Regions from separate parts of the Homo sapiens genome. Here region 2 is linked to region 1. The links are contacts of gene promoters, found by promoter capture Hi-C in blood cells and fetal thymus (Javierre and others, 2016). All regions are on one chromosome and are shown on one strand. The core of a region is centred on a gene start or on the middle of the fragment in contact, and the rest is flanking DNA. Distances in the headings are between cores, read along the strand shown.

Region 1 (3,129 bases), core at 225-2,724:
TGGGTACTGCTGTCTTTGCAATGTCTGGGTTATAGAAGAAACACTGGTGAGCTGAGCAAGGTTGGGATTCCACTTTCTGGGACTCCCCCAGGCATACCTAGGGGCTCAACCTCTGTACTTCAAGGCATCTCAACGCTGAAACAGAACAGTGACCTCTCAAACTCAGCCAGGCAGAGCTATTCTGGATGACATCCTGGGGAATTCTGAATGGGGCCATTTCATTCAGGCCTCAGAAAGATCCTCTGGAAAGTGGGATTTATGATGTAGCCCAGATGACACCTCTCCGCCTGGCCTGCCCCTCACCTAACCCTCCTGCATCTCATCACGCGGATGGCTTCACTCCGCATTGCCAGTCTCCTGAGCATCCTGGGACCCAGAGTCACAGGCTGCAGAGCAATGTTCCATGCCCGCTTTGAGGATTGTCCAGTTGAAACATCTCATACCCACAGTCAGGGTTCCCGTGGGCCATCACTGCACGGCACACCCTGGAGTGCTAACACTTGGACAAAAAGCTGACCTGCCTCAAATCCCAGAATAGCAGCTGTGTTCAGTTTGGGGGACAAATTTATAAATGTCATATATGTAGACAAATGGATGCTTAGGAGGCCTACTCCACTGAGCAGTACTTCTCCATTTTACTGTGCATAGAGATCCCCTAGGGATCTTGTTAATAACACAGATGCTGATTCAGTGGATCTGGGGTGGGAACCTGAGATTCTGCATTTCTAACAAGCTCCCAGACGATGCAGACGTTGCAAGTCTAAGGACCGTATTTTGAACAGGGAGTCCTCAGGGTGTCCAACTTTATTCCATGATGTGCTCATCAGTTTACGCTGCTGCTTAGGCTTCTCTGATTTGGCTAACTCCAAATCCTCTCCAAACTTGTCAAAACAGAGCTAAAACTAGTTTCTACTCTATGTAGACATACTGCCACCTTGAGATTTCATGCACAATCTAGGGGGAAAAACTTGATGATAAATGGAGACTGAGGCAGGAGAATCACTTGAACCCAGGAGGCAGAGGTTGCAGTGAGCCGAGATCACATCATTGCACTCCAGCCTGAGCGACAGGAGTGAAACTCTGTCTCAAAAAAAAAAAAAAAGTTTTCCCCTTTCTTCCCTTACCAAAAATCAATACACAGCAGTAACTACTTACCACAAATGCAGCATTTTGAAAAATTATTTTCTCCCCATGCGTAATTTGACTTTCTCACTAAATCATGGTCCTGTAACATGATCTGGTAGGGTACTCAATTAAAAGCTTCAAAAAAAACCACATCTTTGTGGCCCTAGTGGCACCAAAGTTTACCTGGCAGGCTGGTGGCACGAGAGAACATAATGTCGGGAAAAGCACTCAGGGCGGAGGAAGAGATTGGAGGTCCAGAGATGCTGAGGAGTGAGAAGTTCTCCATATTCTGACCACTGCGGGGGTACAGAGATCACACGCCTGCTCTGGAGAGGCTGGCTGGTTTGTCCAGAGGATAAACATTCTGAGCACAGTTGATGTCACAAGGCACATGATTCCACTACCAACTAGGTTACCCTTTGGAAGATGAATGGAGTCTACTGAAAGCAAGATTAAAATGTGTAAAGATTGTATTTGACTTGCCATTGCCCAGTGGCAGGCCCTGATTGACAATACCCAGAGAGAAGAATGTAGTAGAGATACTGTAGTGATGCTGTCTATTTGTCCCCTTTTATCTTTGTTATCATCAGTTTTCTGTGTTGACACTGTCTACCCCCAGCCCTCCAGCCCTGGAAACCTCTGTCCTGTCTGAATAATCTCCTTCCTTTTCTTCTCCTTTATCAGCCTAATCTCTGTCAGCAAATATTTTTATTGTTTTGTTTTAGTTTGTTTTTTGAGGTGTATATATTTTTCACATTTTCTTTGGAAATTCAAATTTGTAAAAGTTGCAGAAATTAGGCTGGGTGCAGTGGCTCAGGCCTATAATCCCAGCACTTTGGGAGGCCAAGGCGGGTGGATCATTTGAGGTCAGGAGTTCAAGACCAGCTAGACAAACATGGTGAAACCCCATCTCTATTCAAAATATAAAATTTAGCCATGCGTGGTGGTGGGTGCCTGTAATCCCAGCTACTTGGGAGGCTGAAGCAGGAGAGTCGCTTGAACCTGGGAGACAGAGGCTGCAGTGAGCTGAGATAGCGCCACTGCACTGCAGCCTGGGTGACAGAGCGAGACTCCATCTTAAAAGCTGCAAAAAATAAAATCAATACAAAGAACACCCTTATGCCCTGTATCCAGATTTTCCTATTAACATTTTACCCCATTTGCTGTATCCGTCCCCTTCCTCCTGCCCCCTGCCCCATGTGTATGTGTATATACTTAATTTTTTCTGTGAACTATTTGAAGGTAAGTTATAAACACTATGTCCTTTTATACCTAAGTACTTCAATGTGTATTTCCTAAGAATAGGGGCCAAATATTGTTTTCAGTGGTTGGTGCTCTTTTTAGCAAGTGACTAAAGCACAAATGGGTGGCTTACTCAATACTATTTTGCTCATTGCTTAAGTCAGTTTGATGGGGAGACTCTGGGACTCCAGAGAGGCAAGGTTGCCTCTTCGTTTCGCTTGTCCTATAACAACCTTGTGCACTAACGAGGTGTGGAATAAGGTGAAAGATGATTGTGACACTTGGAAGATAAGCTGAAGACACCCCTTTCTAGATTATCACAACATGTCAACTAGATACAGAGCAGGGCTGCAGATCTAGATGGCAGGTATGTTTATGCTGCATGGGGAGCTATGGCCGCTCTGGAAATAGTGATGGGCTTGTTTTGCAGTGCTGTCGAGCATGTGTGAGTGAGGTGTGAGTTAGCTTCTGCACGTGAGAGCCCAGAGTTGTCTTCCTGTGTGTATTTATTCACGGTACTGAAACATTCGAAGGACAATGGGAGAACATGATTCCCCTCGTGTTCCTCCCAGATAGCCTGGTTTGGAACATTAGCATGTATTGGAAAGTAAGTTGAAGCCACATACTTTGGCAGTTTGGGGGGTATCAGCAATTTCATTTGGTCCATTATGGTGTAGAGAAAGCTCATGAGTCTGGGCATCAGCTTATGTGACTTCTAACCCTGCTCCGCCATGAGCTACCTGTGTGATATTGGGCAAATCT
Region 2 (3,022 bases), core at 368-2,867, 520 kb before region 1:
GCCAGTAAGTATAGTATTTTATTATTTAACTGTGTTCTTCTTTTCATTTTATTGGTGATTTTTTTCATTTGTTGTTAAACAGAGCATTTATTGAACACCTACAATATACAAGACCCACATTAGATTTTTATAAAATGAGATCCTTGACTTGTTACAGAGCCAGAAGTGGGAACCCCTATATTCATCTCTGCATATTGGTTCCATCCACCAAACAAAATTGTTTCCTTTTCTTTTCTCCCTTAAACTTCTGTACATGCTTCTGTTTTAGCGCTTATCGCATTGTATTGTTTTCCTATATCTGTCTTCCCAGTTAAACTGCGAGCTTCTTAAAGGCAGAAGTCAAATATTTAATTTTGTAGCTTGGGCACATGTAGGTGCTTTGATTACTGAAAGATGGATATATGGACACAGTAATGAACAAATGATTAAAAAATTATTTAAACCATTGTTTGACAGGGTAAGATTACTTTCTAATGAAATAGAACTTGGTAATATGCCCTTGAAGTCTGATACCCTGACAAACCGCTTCTGAAAATCAGCTTACATAACTACCAGGGAGAATAAAAAGGCATAGTGCAAAGCAAATGCTGTGTGAAAGACAGGTTTCCAGTGTAGCATATGTGGGCCACTAATGGGTGTAGATTGAACTGTTCTCTTGCCAAGAGTCATCAATAAGAACTCTTTAATGATGGCTTAGTTCATAGATGTATTTTGGCATGAAGATCTCTGTGTTTAACTCAGTAAACAATAGGATCTAGTTTCATTATGGACTTTTCATACTTCTTAGGAACTTGTCATTGGGAAGATAATTATTTTAGACAAGCAGACATTGTTATATGTTCAGTAACACTTATATAGCTTGGTCATAAAATTTGTGGTGCTTGGACTAGCTTTTGGGCTCTTTCTTTAAACTTAATGGAAAGTGCCTTAAATGCCTTAATCTCCATAAGACACTTCTCCCAGACTAGAATGGACCTAAAGAGTTCTAATATCTGTCAGTGTTTAATTATTTGAACTGAATATGTCAGAAATCTTAGCAATGGAAGTTTAACAAATTTAAGTATAGAATGAACCAGTATAGGAAGATTTCATATAATTTTGTGATACAGTATTAAACTTTTTTTTTTTTTAATATTCCAGGGTGCTCTGGAACAGGGCTCAAATTCTCAGCTGATGGCTGTTCAATACACAGAAACCACTAGTAGTATCAGGTAAGACAGTGCAGAAGCTCTTGGCCAAGGAATTTAAAATAGCTGGTATTTTAAGAAAGTTGAAATTCACACTTCCCTTTCACCTTAAATTTGTTCTCATCTATGAGTTTTATATTAGTCATATACTCTAAGATATATATATATATGTATATATATATATAACATACTACTGAGCAGTTGGAATAAAGCCAGATAATTTCAAAAGTTCAACTCTCCCAAATCCCTTAAATACAAATTTAGTCAGAATGCTGTTCCATCATAATTTTGATGAAAATCTTGAATACCCATAGCTTTCTTGCCCTTGATTTGCATCTGTTTCATGAACCTAGGGAAGGGAATGTTATTTTTTGAGTGCTCTGTACCAGGTGTCCTGCTGAGTGTTTTACATGTATTTTATCTTTAAATCCATGTAATAACTAAAAGTTTATTTTATATATAGAAAAACTGGTCAAATCATTTATTTTTTTTGTAATTTTCAGAGTCATAAGACCTAGTGGTAGACTCAGAATTCAGATCATAGCTGTTTTACTTACAATGCATTTTTCACTACACAATAATACTTAAGATTTTGAAAGATTTCAAAGAGAATGCTGTATCTACAGGTTTAAATGTCTTCAAAGGGAAATATAATATGGGAAGCAATATGGTGTCATGGTTAAGATGCTAGCTTTATTTGCCCTGTTGGGCAGAGTTCAAATTATAACTCTACCTCTTACTTTGTGGGCTCAAGCAGATTACATGCAATTGAAGTTTTCTCATCTACAAAATGCTGGCTGCACAGAGTTGATATAATGGTTAAATTAGATAATATATTTAGAGCACTTAGCATGGTACATAAGTGCCCCCCAAAATGGTAAATGATAATGATGTGATGTCATTGACAACAGTATCACTGAAGTGAAATTTGAGGATCTCAGCTTCTATCTGTAGCTCTACCACACATTTGCAGTTCACTTATATGAATTTAACATTTACTTAGAATATACTGTGTGCCAGTGTTCTAGGCACTGAGAAAAAAATATAGATAGATAGATAGATAGTAAAAATGAAGTCAAAAGCTATTTTATTCATTATACTAATAACTGAGAATTCCTATTAAATGACAATGAGCAGCATATCAGCAATCATGAATGTTTAAAATCCTGAGATTGTATTATCCTGTTGAAATTGATAATTCAAATATGTTTAAATAATAACTAATCATTCTCTGCTAACCAGAATATATCATTCAATTACATTTATTTTAAAAATATATCAATTTTTGGATGCATGGTTATAATGGCATGGTATTTCTTCATTAGTTAAAATGTTTTAGTGAATTACAGCCAATTTTCATTATTTGTGGATTCCATATTTGCTAATTCACCTACTAAAATCTGCTAAAATGTATTTGTAACCCCTAATATTAGCAGTGCTTTTGTCATCATTTGCAAACATGCGTAGATGCTCCCTGGTGAGGTTGAACAAGGCAGTGTTCTGCCTTTTAGTCTCAGCTATATAAACAAGGTCCTTTTCACAGTCCACATTTTTCATATTTTTGTGCTTTTTGTTGGTAATTTTGCTGTTTGAAATGGCCCCGAGGCATATTGCTGAATTGCTGTCTAGTGTTGCTAAGCCGAAGCGGGCTGTGATGTGCTGTGTGGAGAAACTACGTATGTTAGATAAGTTTCATTCAGGCATGATTTATAGTGCAGTTGGCTGTGAGTTCAAGTTAGTGAATGAATAATATATGTTAAAGAAGGTATCTCTAAACAGAAACACATAAATAAGGTTATATATTTATCACTTAACAGAAATATTGTAACCAGAGG

What was found. Contacts are between HindIII fragments. The CHiCAGO score rates a contact against its expected background, and 5 or more counts as called.
Region 2: a fragment that was not itself captured here is called in contact with the fragment with the promoter of SPATA46 in region 1 in 1 of 17 cell types (M0 macrophages); the score reaches 5.4 in M0 macrophages.

Annotation. Positions count from the first base shown.
Region 1 is chr1:162,375,380-162,378,508 of GRCh38, forward strand. It overlaps SPATA46 (spermatogenesis associated 46), which reads right to left and starts at 1,475. Exons shown (of 3, transcript NM_182581.4): 1 at 1,309-1,475; 2 at 1-24. The coding sequence starts at 1,411. The HindIII fragment of the contact is 3,530 bases long and covers 1,259-3,129 here.
Region 2 is chr1:161,859,067-161,862,088 of GRCh38, forward strand. It overlaps ATF6 (activating transcription factor 6), which reads left to right. Exons shown (of 16, transcript NM_007348.4): 13 at 1,141-1,211. Among named protein-coding and RNA genes, the nearest start is that of ATF6, 94 kb to the left of the region's middle. The HindIII fragment of the contact is 4,155 bases long and covers 1-3,022 here.